Regions from separate parts of the Homo sapiens genome. Here region 1 is linked to region 2. Evidence: promoter capture Hi-C in human tissues and cell types (Jung and others, 2019). All regions are on one chromosome and are shown on one strand. The core of a region is centred on a gene start or on the middle of the fragment in contact, and the rest is flanking DNA. Distances in the headings are between cores, read along the strand shown. Region 1 overlaps MRPS33 (mitochondrial ribosomal protein S33). Region 2 holds the start of TAS2R5 (taste 2 receptor member 5).

The links. The method cuts DNA at HindIII sites, captures the fragments that hold promoters and counts their contacts. A contact is called where the count stands out against the background at its distance.
Region 1: a contact is called between a fragment that was not itself captured here and the fragment with the promoter of TAS2R5 in region 2, in 1 of the 25 tissues and cell types used here (mesenchymal stem cells).

What each region holds. Positions count from the first base shown.
Region 1 is chr7:141,008,628-141,013,917 of GRCh38, reverse strand. It overlaps MRPS33 (mitochondrial ribosomal protein S33), which reads left to right. Exons shown (of 3, transcript NM_053035.3): 2 at 3,258-3,499. The coding sequence starts at 3,285. Among named protein-coding and RNA genes, the nearest start is that of MRPS33, 3.7 kb to the left of the region's middle. RefSeq lists an enhancer at 458-527. The HindIII fragment of the contact is 3,521 bases long and covers 1-3,473 here.
Region 2 is chr7:141,788,018-141,793,484 of GRCh38, reverse strand. TAS2R5 (taste 2 receptor member 5) reads right to left here and starts at 3,268. Exons shown (of 1, transcript NM_018980.3): 1 at 2,118-3,268. The coding sequence starts at 3,123. The coding sequence ends at 2,224. It also overlaps the pseudogene TAS2R6P. The HindIII fragment of the contact is 8,730 bases long and covers 1-5,467 here.

The sequences.
Region 1 (5,290 bases), core at 464-2,963, 780 kb after region 2:
TGCACTTCATCTTTACCTTTCAAAGAGAAAAGGCAAACCTAATACAAAGCCACTTATTGAAATAATCTTTTAAATGCATCAGACCTATCAAAAAGATCAAAGAAGTTTGCCCTGTTATGCCAAAGTAAAAATATGGGAATTTTCTTCTCATGTGGGCTTAATTTGTTTTGCTCAGCACATTTGAGTAATTTGTTTTTGCTTAGCATTTTCAGCTCCAGTTAACTTTTTTCATGAGAGTACAGTTTTCTTTAGTTCACATTTAAAGAAAGGTAACACTTAAAGTGACTTGTACTCCCCGAGAATGGTTTCATGTGAATCAAAATGTAATTGACATGCACGTTGTAAGAAAAGCTCCCGTGTTATTCTTCGTGAGAGACATGTGTCTGTGCACTGTGGAAGGAAACAACAAAGCAGTGTCATTGGTAATTGTTAAAACCACTTTCAGTTTCCTCCTGTTTAGCAAGTGGGCCTTTGTTTCTAGTAAGGGATTCAGGTTTGAAAAGGCTTATTCCCTTTCTCTGTCATAAAACTTTAGGACTTGGATTTTATGATATAACCATGTTCCAGCCTATTCTAGTGTGACCTTTTTACTTACAAGTTATGTATCCCAGTAATTTGCCACATTCCAAAATGGGCATGGACATAACAGCAGCATCCTGTGATGGCTTCAGTGACTACTGTCCTACTGAGTCCCTTCCTCCTCCTGGCTATCTTGTCAAGTTATCAAGGTGCTGGTCCTCTCCCTATGTTTCTCTGGCTGTCAGTCTTTGTAAATGAGGTCATCATTCCAGGGAGGCACAAAGTTTTTACTATATGGAGTATCTATCTGTCTGTCTCTCTCTCTTTTTTTTTTTTTCTTAAACATGATTAAGAACAAGGAATAAACAAATGTGTCTATGTAGAATATATGAAAACCAAACTTACAGATCTGGGCTCGTTCTTTTTTGTAAGTTACCATTTACTACTCAGTGCCACTGTTACTCATTTTCGCACTAGTCATGCAAGCTTTGTTTTCAGAAAAGGAGACTCAGAGAAGATGAGTAACTGTTCACAATAACCCAAGGATTAAGTGACAGAGCCAGTAGTCAAACCTAGGCCTCAGGAATCCCTGTTGCCTCTTCATTGACAAATAAAGGGACTTGGAATTCAGAACAGATTTTCCTGAAAACACTGTAACAAACTGATAGTTCCCATACCAGCTTACAGATAACTAACTGTGGAAATACTGTGCAATTACAGCAGAAATATATTCTGATGCCACAATGGTAATTAAGCAAACAAAGCAAAGTTGATGAAGCAACTATTGTTTTTTAATCTAATGTTTGGAAAAAGGTAACTTTAAAGGGCAAAGGAAGAGAAAAAGCATGCAAAGAAACTAGGTGACTCTGGACATTTGCAAGGCTTTTTAGAGGTTTATGGCACTGATTTGTTTATACATTAAACTGCTAAATGAATTTTTTTCACCTTGAGACTATAACCCTAGTCCTAACAACCCCACCCCCAACCAGAGTTGGCAAAGAAGTGAATCAGGAAACTGAGAATGCTGAATGGAAAAGGAAGAACAGGCTTGTAGGTGATCTGCAGATGGTGGGGAGGGAGGGGTGGACGTTGGATCTGACAGTTCTACCGTTGCCAGCCTTCAGGTGGCACTATTGACCCAAAATTGCTTGGTTGGTGTTCTGAATGGTTTTGAGGTTGACAGTGGTTTGAGATCAGCCTCTGCTTTTTTTTTTTTTTTTTTTTTGACACACAATCTTGCTCTGTCACTCAGGCTATAGAGTACAGTAGTGCAGTCATAACTTAGTGTAACCTCAAACTCCTGTGCTCAAGTGATGTCCCCCTCCTCAGCCTCCACGAGTAGCTGGAACTACAGGTGTGCACTACCATAGCAGACTAATTTTCTTATTTTCTTTTGTTTTTTGTTTTTTTTTCTGTAAAAACAAGATTTCTCCATGTTGCCTGGGCTGGTCTTGAAGTCCTGACCTCAAGCGATCCTCCCACCTCAGCCTCTCAAAGTACTGGGATTATAGGCATGAGCTACCATGCCCAGCCTCCTCTGTTAATGGATCTTGAAACAGGCATTAAAACTTCCTTAATTTAAACACGGTTTGTTTTCTTACAAGAACTATTTTGAAATTCACTTGGCACCATTTTTATGTAGGAGGGTTTTTGGTACATTTCTCCCATTGGTTTTTCAAAGTTTATGCCTTTTTCCTGCTTGAATATCAGCACCTTTTCATCTCAGCTGAACTGTTTCCCAGGATAGTCTCTGAGTCAGCAAAGATTCTCATCTCACTACTAAAATTTCTCATAAATTGGCATATTCTGCCAACAATAACCCCTACGTCTGGTCTAAACTGAGTTGAGATAGTTATTCCACCAGCAGCTTTCTTGATTTTTATGTATCCCCTGTATAGTTTTTTATGTCTGTTAGCTGTAATTCGTGCATATCACGGATATCATTCTTATACCCATTTCAGTGTTGTATGTCTCTGAAGAAAAAGCTACTGTTTCCAGCTGATAAGAACTTAGGTAGTTTGCATTAAAGCAGAATATATAAGATGGAGGATACAGCAAGTAACCTTACAATTCATACGTGCCTTCTATTTAGTAAGAAAATGGATCTTTTGAGCTATTGGATTTATTTTTATAGGGCTACTGTCTGTTTTTCCCAAATGGCTCTCAGTCTCTAGGCAAAATTCAGTTCAGTAACCTAGAAGCCAAATGACCTCATAACTCATTAGCAGCTCTCAGAGCCTTCTGGAGCCCTTGAGGAGAACAGTGTTCAAAGGACTGATAGTAAAGACAACATAATTATGTCTCTGCCATGATTACACCTTTTGATGGCAAGCAGTCAGCATATTAATGCTGCAGATTGCTTAGGTGGGTGTTTTCTGAAGGTATAATGATGCTGGATTAGGATAACTTGTTTCCCTGTCTTCTTCATCCCCAGCCTACAAATAGGTAAACTGACTGTCAGTAAATAACCTGGTGAATCACAAAATAGTTGGTTGCAAAGGAGGCAATACAGCAAGGAAGTAATAGCATGTAAACACGAAGTGCAAAAATCGCAGCTGTAAAGCATGGAAAGGAAATAGCCATTTGGACTGTGGATACTTCTCCACTCCAAGGCATATCCTGCCAACACTGCACTGATCCATGAGTGGCTTGCTGTGTTTGCATTTTCTAACTTATTCATTAGCTAATCTTGGAATTTCTTACCCTAACCTGTTTAACTTTCTTCTCATTTTCAATAGGAACTCTAACTCCTTGCCACTCAAGAAATGTCCTCCCTTTCAGAATATGCCTTCCGCATGTCTCGTCTCAGTGCCCGGCTATTTGGTGAAGTCACCAGGCCTACTAATTCCAAGTCTATGAAAGTGGTGAAACTGTTTAGTGAACTGCCCTTGGCCAAGAAGAAGGAGACTTATGATTGGTATCCAAATCACCACACTTACGCTGAACTCATGCAGACGCTCCGATTTCTTGGACTCTACAGGTGATGACAAACACAAAGAGGGACCTATGAGAGACTTTTTTTCAGTAGATCAGAAAAGGAAAAAAATTAGCCTTTCTATCCTTGTAGTTTTGTTCTTATAATAGAGCCCAGGTAGTTCAAAAGGTACAGTTGGCAGGAGAAAGTCTTCTTTCAAAATACCCATAATGGAGAGACCAAAAAAAAAAAGGAAATTCATGCTTGTTGGAAGATATATTTTAATTATGTCTACAACATGACTAATGTTGAATAGATACTGAGCTGTAGAGAGGTGTTTAATCATTTGTTAATCTAAGAGCACTCTAAAAAGGATGCCAAGAGGCCAGGCGCAGTGGCTCACGCTTGTAATCCCAGCACTTTGGGAGGCCGAGGCAGGCAGATCACGAGGTCAAGAAATCAAGACCATCCTGGCCAACTTGGTGAAACTCTGTCTCTACTAAAAATACAAAAATTAGCTGGGCATGGTGGTGCACGCCTGTAGTCCCAGCTACTCGGGAGGCTAAGGCAGGAGAATTGCTTGAATCTGGGAGGCGGAGGTTGCAGTGAGCCGAGATCGCGCCACTGCACTCCAGCCTGGCAACAGAGTGAGACTCCATCTCGAGAAAAAAAAAAAAAAAACAATGCAGAGAAAAACTGGTCCAAGTACTGAGGAAGAAAGCCTCAGAAACACCAAGGTTGCCAGGGCAGTGGGCTCTTGTTATCAGATGAACAGAGTCCCTGACCGACACCTGATCTGCTGCTTAACTGGTATGTGGGAGCCTTCTTTCTCTTCTGGTGGCATTTTTGTTGACATTTCTTCCTACTGTCTTCTGGCATTTTTATTTTGTACCCTTTTTGACATATTAATTTGGTCTAGATAAGCTGTAGTTTGCCTTTAAGGATAATACGTAAATCACACAGGTTCTTAACACCATGTGTTTGTATGTGTGTGTATGTCTAGGGAGTAGGTGCTTAGAACTGTGTGCATCTCTGAAAAAAAAAAAAAGATCAGGCCAGGCACAATGGCTCAGGCCTATAATCCCAGTGCTTTGGGAGGCCGAGGCAGACAGATCATCTGAGGTCAGGAGTTTGAGACCAGCCTGGCCAACATGGTGAAACCCCGTCTCTACTAAAAATACAAAAATTAGCTGGGCGTGGTGGCACACGCCTGTAATTCCAGCTACTTGGGAGGCTGAGGCAAGAGAATTGCTTGAACCCAGGAGATGGAGGTTGCAGTGAGTCAAGATCATGCCACTGTACTCCAGCCTGGGTGACAAAGCAAGACTCTATCTCAAAAAAAAAAAAAAATCAAATACCTGTGTGATCTTTCTCATTAAATTATTTTTTTGGCCAGGTATGATAGCTCACAGCTGTAATCCCAGCGCTTTGAGAGGCCAAGGCGGGCAGACCACTTGAGGTCAGGAATTCAAGACCAGCCTGGCCAACATGGTGAAACCCCGTCTCTACTAAAAATACAAAAATTAGCTGGGTGTGGTAGCACATGCCTGTAATCCCAGCTACTTGGGAGGCTGAGGCAGGAGAATCGCTTGAACTCAGGAGGAAGAGGTTACAGTGAGCCGAGATCGTGCCACTGCACTCCAGCAACAGAGCGAGATTCGGTCTCAAAAAAAAAAAAAAAAATTATTTTTTTAATTACCAAACTAATACATGCCCATTACAAAAGAATTCAAATAGTACATAATTGTATAAAGTTAAAATACCTACCATCTTTTTAAAAATTTAACAAGTTGTAATTGGAGTTGTCTTTGGGCAACAATACTAAAATTATTGGGAACCATTTATTCTAATACAATA
Region 2 (5,467 bases), core at 2,019-4,518:
ATCACTCCAGCCTGAGTTTTGTCACCTGTGAATTGGGGATAAAATTGGTTACTGCATAGAGTTGCTATTAAAATCAAATGAGATAATGGACTATATATGAGATTGTCTGGTAAAATGTAAAGCCCAATACAAATGTTAAATACTATTGTCACTATTACAACAATTGGTCACAAAGGACATCTGTAAAAAAAATAGAAATGGTATAATGAAAATTCATCCTACTAACAAAAATATAACCAAGCAGAAGCACCTTTCTATTTAAAAAGAATGAATATGATCCTTCCCAGGACATAAAATATGGTACTTGACCTCACACAACTCACAGTGACAGTGGAACCAATCTCCCCCTGTGTGATGACTAATATCCACATGTGCCTAGCATGTACCTCAATTCTCAGATTCAGGTAAGAAAAAGATATGTTTGAGAGAATAGATTAATGAAAGTAGATTAGTGTGATCCATAGGAAGTGAAAAAAAAATATTTAAGAATGCCAAGTGTTGTCCTTTGGATTTCAGATCCCCCTGGAACTGAAACAAAGAAGGCTAGAAAGAAGGAAGAGAATAAGTTGTGTAGAAGGGTCTGTAGAAAGAGGCATGGGGTTCCAAGGAGGGAAGGACATTAGGAAAGTAGCATGTTGTAAAGGAAAGAGCCCTGCACCAGGAGTCAAGAAACAGCTCTAGTCCCAGCACTGCCACAGGCTCTCTATGAAACCCAGGGCAGGCCACTGCCCCTCTCTGGGCATCAGTTTCTCTACCTACAATACAAAGGAGGCATTGTAAAACCAGTTAGCACAGCTATTCAGTCATTTACAAAATATTTATTAAGCGTTTATTATGCAATAGGCAGTGTTCTAGTCACAGAGACGTGGGAGAAAATAAAAACAGACACAGTTCCTACTGCCATGGATCTGGCATTCTAAATGATCTCCCTCCAACTCAAAGACCTGGCACACTAGAACTCTGACTGTAGGCTGTGGTGAGGCCACAGTAGACAGGCAAAATGGCTAAATGACTGAAGAGCAGACAGCGTGACCTCTTCAAAGGCAGTCTATTTTTTTTAAGCAGAATCAAGTGCCCCTCATTCTCATATTGCCCCACTTCAGTTCCTGGGCCTTGGAGCTTAATACAGATCATGGCATCCAACTGACTTTTATTCTGCTTTTTTTTTTTTTTTTGAGACGGCATCTCGCTCTGTTGCCCAGGCTGGAGTGCAGTGGCATGGTCTCGGCTCACTGCCATCTCCACCTCCTGGGTTCATGCCATTCTCCCGCCTCAGCCTCCCGAGTAGCTGGGACTACAGGTGCCCGCCAACACACCAGGCTAATTTTTTGTATTTTTAGTAGAGATGGGGTTTAATCATGTTAGCCAGGATGGTCTTGATCTCTTTTTTTTTTTTTTTTTGAGACGGAGTCCCGCTCTGTCGCCCAGGCCGGACTGCGGACTGCAGTGGCGCAATCTCGGCTCACTGCAAGCTCCGCTTCCCGGGTTCACGCCATTCTCCTGCCTCAGCCTCCCGAGTAGCTGGGACTACAGGCGCCCGCCACCGCGCCCGGCTAATTTGGTCTTGATCTCTTGACCTCGTGATCCGCCCGCCTCAGCCTCCCAAAGCGCTGGGATTACAGGCGTGAGCCTGATTTTTATTCTGAAAGCCAAGGCTAGGGCTCAAAGAAACTTCCAGAAATATAAAGATGTTTTGTTTTGTTTTTCAGTTAGATAATTAGATACATTACAGCAGAGAAATGGGGAAATTATTTGATACTTTTTAAAAAGCATATCTAAAATGACTAACATTAATGTATAGGTAAAATTTCATAAAAATTAATGATCACTATAATTGTTCCTAATCTCTGTTTTCTATACTAGGAAAAACACAATTTATATATGAATTTTTGCTATATGTAGACAGAATTGTTCCTAATCTCTGCTTTTTATAATAGGAAAAACACGATTTATATATGAATTATTTGCTATATGTAGAGAGAATATAATACCTCTTTTACCAAACATGAAGCCCTAGCCTTGATTTCTGTGGTACATTAAAAAAATATACTTTGCATTGCCAAAAGAGACATAGTATTGGGTTTTGATCCGTATTTTCTGTTGCTCATTCATTACATTGGTGTAAAAGAAGGAAAATCTTAAAAGACATGGAAAGCAGCTCCCTTATAGAGAGCTATCAAAAGAGCGTCCCAAGAGTGTCCTGACCACACTTTTCTTCCCAGATCATGGGCCCCAGCATCTCCGAGCACACACTGTCTTCCACAGGATCTTCTGACAAGTCTGCTTCACCCTAGGAATCCCCATGATCAATATGAGAGAATGAAGAGAAGGATAGGCTGCCATGAGTGTCTCCCAGATGAAGACACTGGTGAGATCAGGAGGATAAGTCTTGGAGGTGATGGAGAAGGGGCTGGCCATGATATAAACCAGGTGAAGTAAGAGGAAGCAGCCCAAGGACTTCAGCGCAGTGATGTGAGCCTTGGCCCGGACATCCCTCCTACCAGCTGAATGGACCTTCATCTTCTTGTGGTGTGTATACAAAGAGACAATCAGCATCCCAGAGGAAACAAGAAACACCACTAAAGGCAAATAACTTCCTGAATTGAGCTGAAATGCATACAGGTACTGCCAGCTTTCAAAGGGATACCGAATGCTGCTGTTTCCTTGGGGAGGATGATAGAATGTTAAGCCAATTTGGACTGTAAGTAACAAATTGATTATAAAGTAGCCCAGAAGGCACCAGAGACTCAGGTTATAGGCCCTCTGCTTCAGCCACAAGTAGGCCGGGCGATCGAAGGTCGTGATCTTCTTGCAATAGAAGACACTGAGGAAGGTGGCAAACCATAAGCTGGCCTGGCTTACCAGGACCCAGAAGATACTAAGATAGCGAAGCCAACGGCTGCTCTGGAAAAGTGGAAACAAGCTTAAGTCCAAAATGATCAGCCACTGCAGGAGAAATCGGCAGCCAGCCAGGCCCAGGATAATGAGGTTATATGAGGACCAGTTGAATTTTCTGATCCATTCTCTAAAACTCCAGACCACCAGGCTTCCATTTCCAATTAAACCGATGAGAAATTCAACCACTGCCACCAGCATCAGCAGTCCTAGGCCAGCGCTCAGCATGGCTGGGGAGAGGAGGCTCTCACTGCTCCTGGCTGAGGTCAGATCCCCTGGTAGTGATAACACACCAGGGTAAATTTTCACACCACAAAATCTGGATTTGGCCTCGTCCTTCCGTAATCTGTCTTCAAGCGAGACTGAACAGCTGTGATGAGGAACAGAGAGGTTGGAAGTTATGATACCATCTGTATTTGCATCTACATGAATGAACCCTGAGTGTAGAACCAGAGATTGCAAACAGTACCACAGACACCGGCTCTCCATCTCAAAGGTTTTGGGCCAAAGTCTAGACACCAGGGTATAACGTAACAAGGCCCCTCAACAAGAAAGACCAAATCAAAACATGCTCAGGTGCTATACAGTGCCAGTTATGAGCTCATATGCTATATAAAAAAAGAAATTTTATTTTCATGAAAAGAACACTGGGCCAGGCATGGTGGCTCACACCTGTAATCCCAACACTTTGAGAGGCCAAGGCGGGTGGATCACCTGAAGCCAGGAGTTCGAGACCACCCTGGCCAACATGGTGAAGCCCCATCTCTACTAAAAATACAAAAATTATCTGGGCGTGGTGGTGGCTGCCTGTAGTCCCAGCTACTCGGGAGGCTGAGGCAGGAGAACCACTTGAACCCAGGAGATGGAAGCTGCAGTGGGCCAAGATCGCGCCACTGCACTCCAGCCTGGGCGACAGAGCAAGACTCCATCTCAAAAAAAAAAAGTAAGCATGCTGAGAACTCTCTACGAAGCTGTAGGCAGGCAGGCCACTGCCCGTCTCTGGGCCTCAGTTGCTCTATTAATAACTGAATGGATTGTAGGATGAGATTTCCATTCCTTCGGACTAAATTTACAAAGTGCTTATTTTGTGTCAAACTACGGTGTACTAGGCACAGGGGACGGCGCCATTATAATACACAGTCCCTGCCTCCAGGTAGCATCCATTGTACATCATCTCCACCAAGCTGCAAGGCCTGGTACTCTAAAACTCTGGCTGTAGGCTATGGAGGGGCAGAGGTGGTCGCGATCTTCTACTGGACTAAAAATCTAGATGAGGCTTGAACTCGTCCAAAAACAGTGTTTCTTCAGTGACTTTCTGATAGAGACATAGTGCCTCTCTCTCCCCACCTGCCCCAATCTAGCCTGGCAGTGGAATTTGCCACCGATCCTGGTAGCCAACTGACACGTTTCCAGAAAGCTAGTCTGGCATCAAAAAAACCAAAGTATCCAGAAATATAAAGGTAGGTTTTTGACTACTTTACTACCGGTGTTGAGAGGCTAAACTACATAGAAAATTGAGATAATAATTTAGCTAATTCCCCTAAGAAAAGTGCTTGCCTAAAAAATATACAGGCTCACCTCTTTTTAAAATATATTATTTTCAAACTATAGCTATTTTCTACTTCCTTTTATCAAAAACATAGCATATTGGCAAAGAAAACTTGATTATCTGCAGTAATTTTTAAAAATGTGATACTTCCCATGCAAAATATGAAAACTCGGTTTTGACTTCTGTAGTTTATTAAAATGATGTGATTTGCATTGCTTAGAGAGCAATAAGCTCCAGTTTCTAGCCTGTTTTTCATGTTACCCTTTCATTTTGTTTCAAAATCAAAGAAGAAATGAGGAGAATTGAGAATAAAAATTTCATTTTTCTAAAATCTACAGTTATTTTTACTGTTGTCAGTGATACAGTTAAGGGCCTGATTAGATCCTTCTTCCAAGTCATGGCCTCTAGGATTTCCATGTACATATCATCTCCTACAGAATTCTCTGACAAGTCTGATTCCTCATAACCATTACAATAGACGGAAATGAAGTATAAACAGCCATGAGTGTTGCAGAGATGGCAAGAATGGTGAGATCAGAGGGAGATTAGAAGGTCATGGAAAAGTGTCTGGCCAAGGCAGAAACCATGTAAAGGGGGAAGTTCAGAGCGATGAGCACCTTGGTTTGAGCCTCCTCCTGACAGCTGTGTGGTCCTCCATCTTCCTGTGATGTCTTTACAAAAAGACAAGTGGAACAGAAACATCACAAATAGCAATCAGTCTCCTTCACTGGACAGCAATCTATAAAAATAACAGATTTAAAATGGGATGCAGGATGTTGCTGTTTCCTGTTAAGGGTTTTTAAAGGGTCCAGCCAACAAGAGCTGAGAAATAAAAAGTGATCTTGAAAGACACTAGCAAAAAACAAAAACCCAGTCTTTTCAGCTACAAGAAGTCAGCGGGACAAAGGTCATGATCTCCATGCAGCAGAAGCCACTGAAGAAAGTGGCAAACTACATGTTGGCCTGGCTTACCAGGACTCGAAGACATTAAGATAGTAAAGCCAACCACTGCTCTGGGAAAGT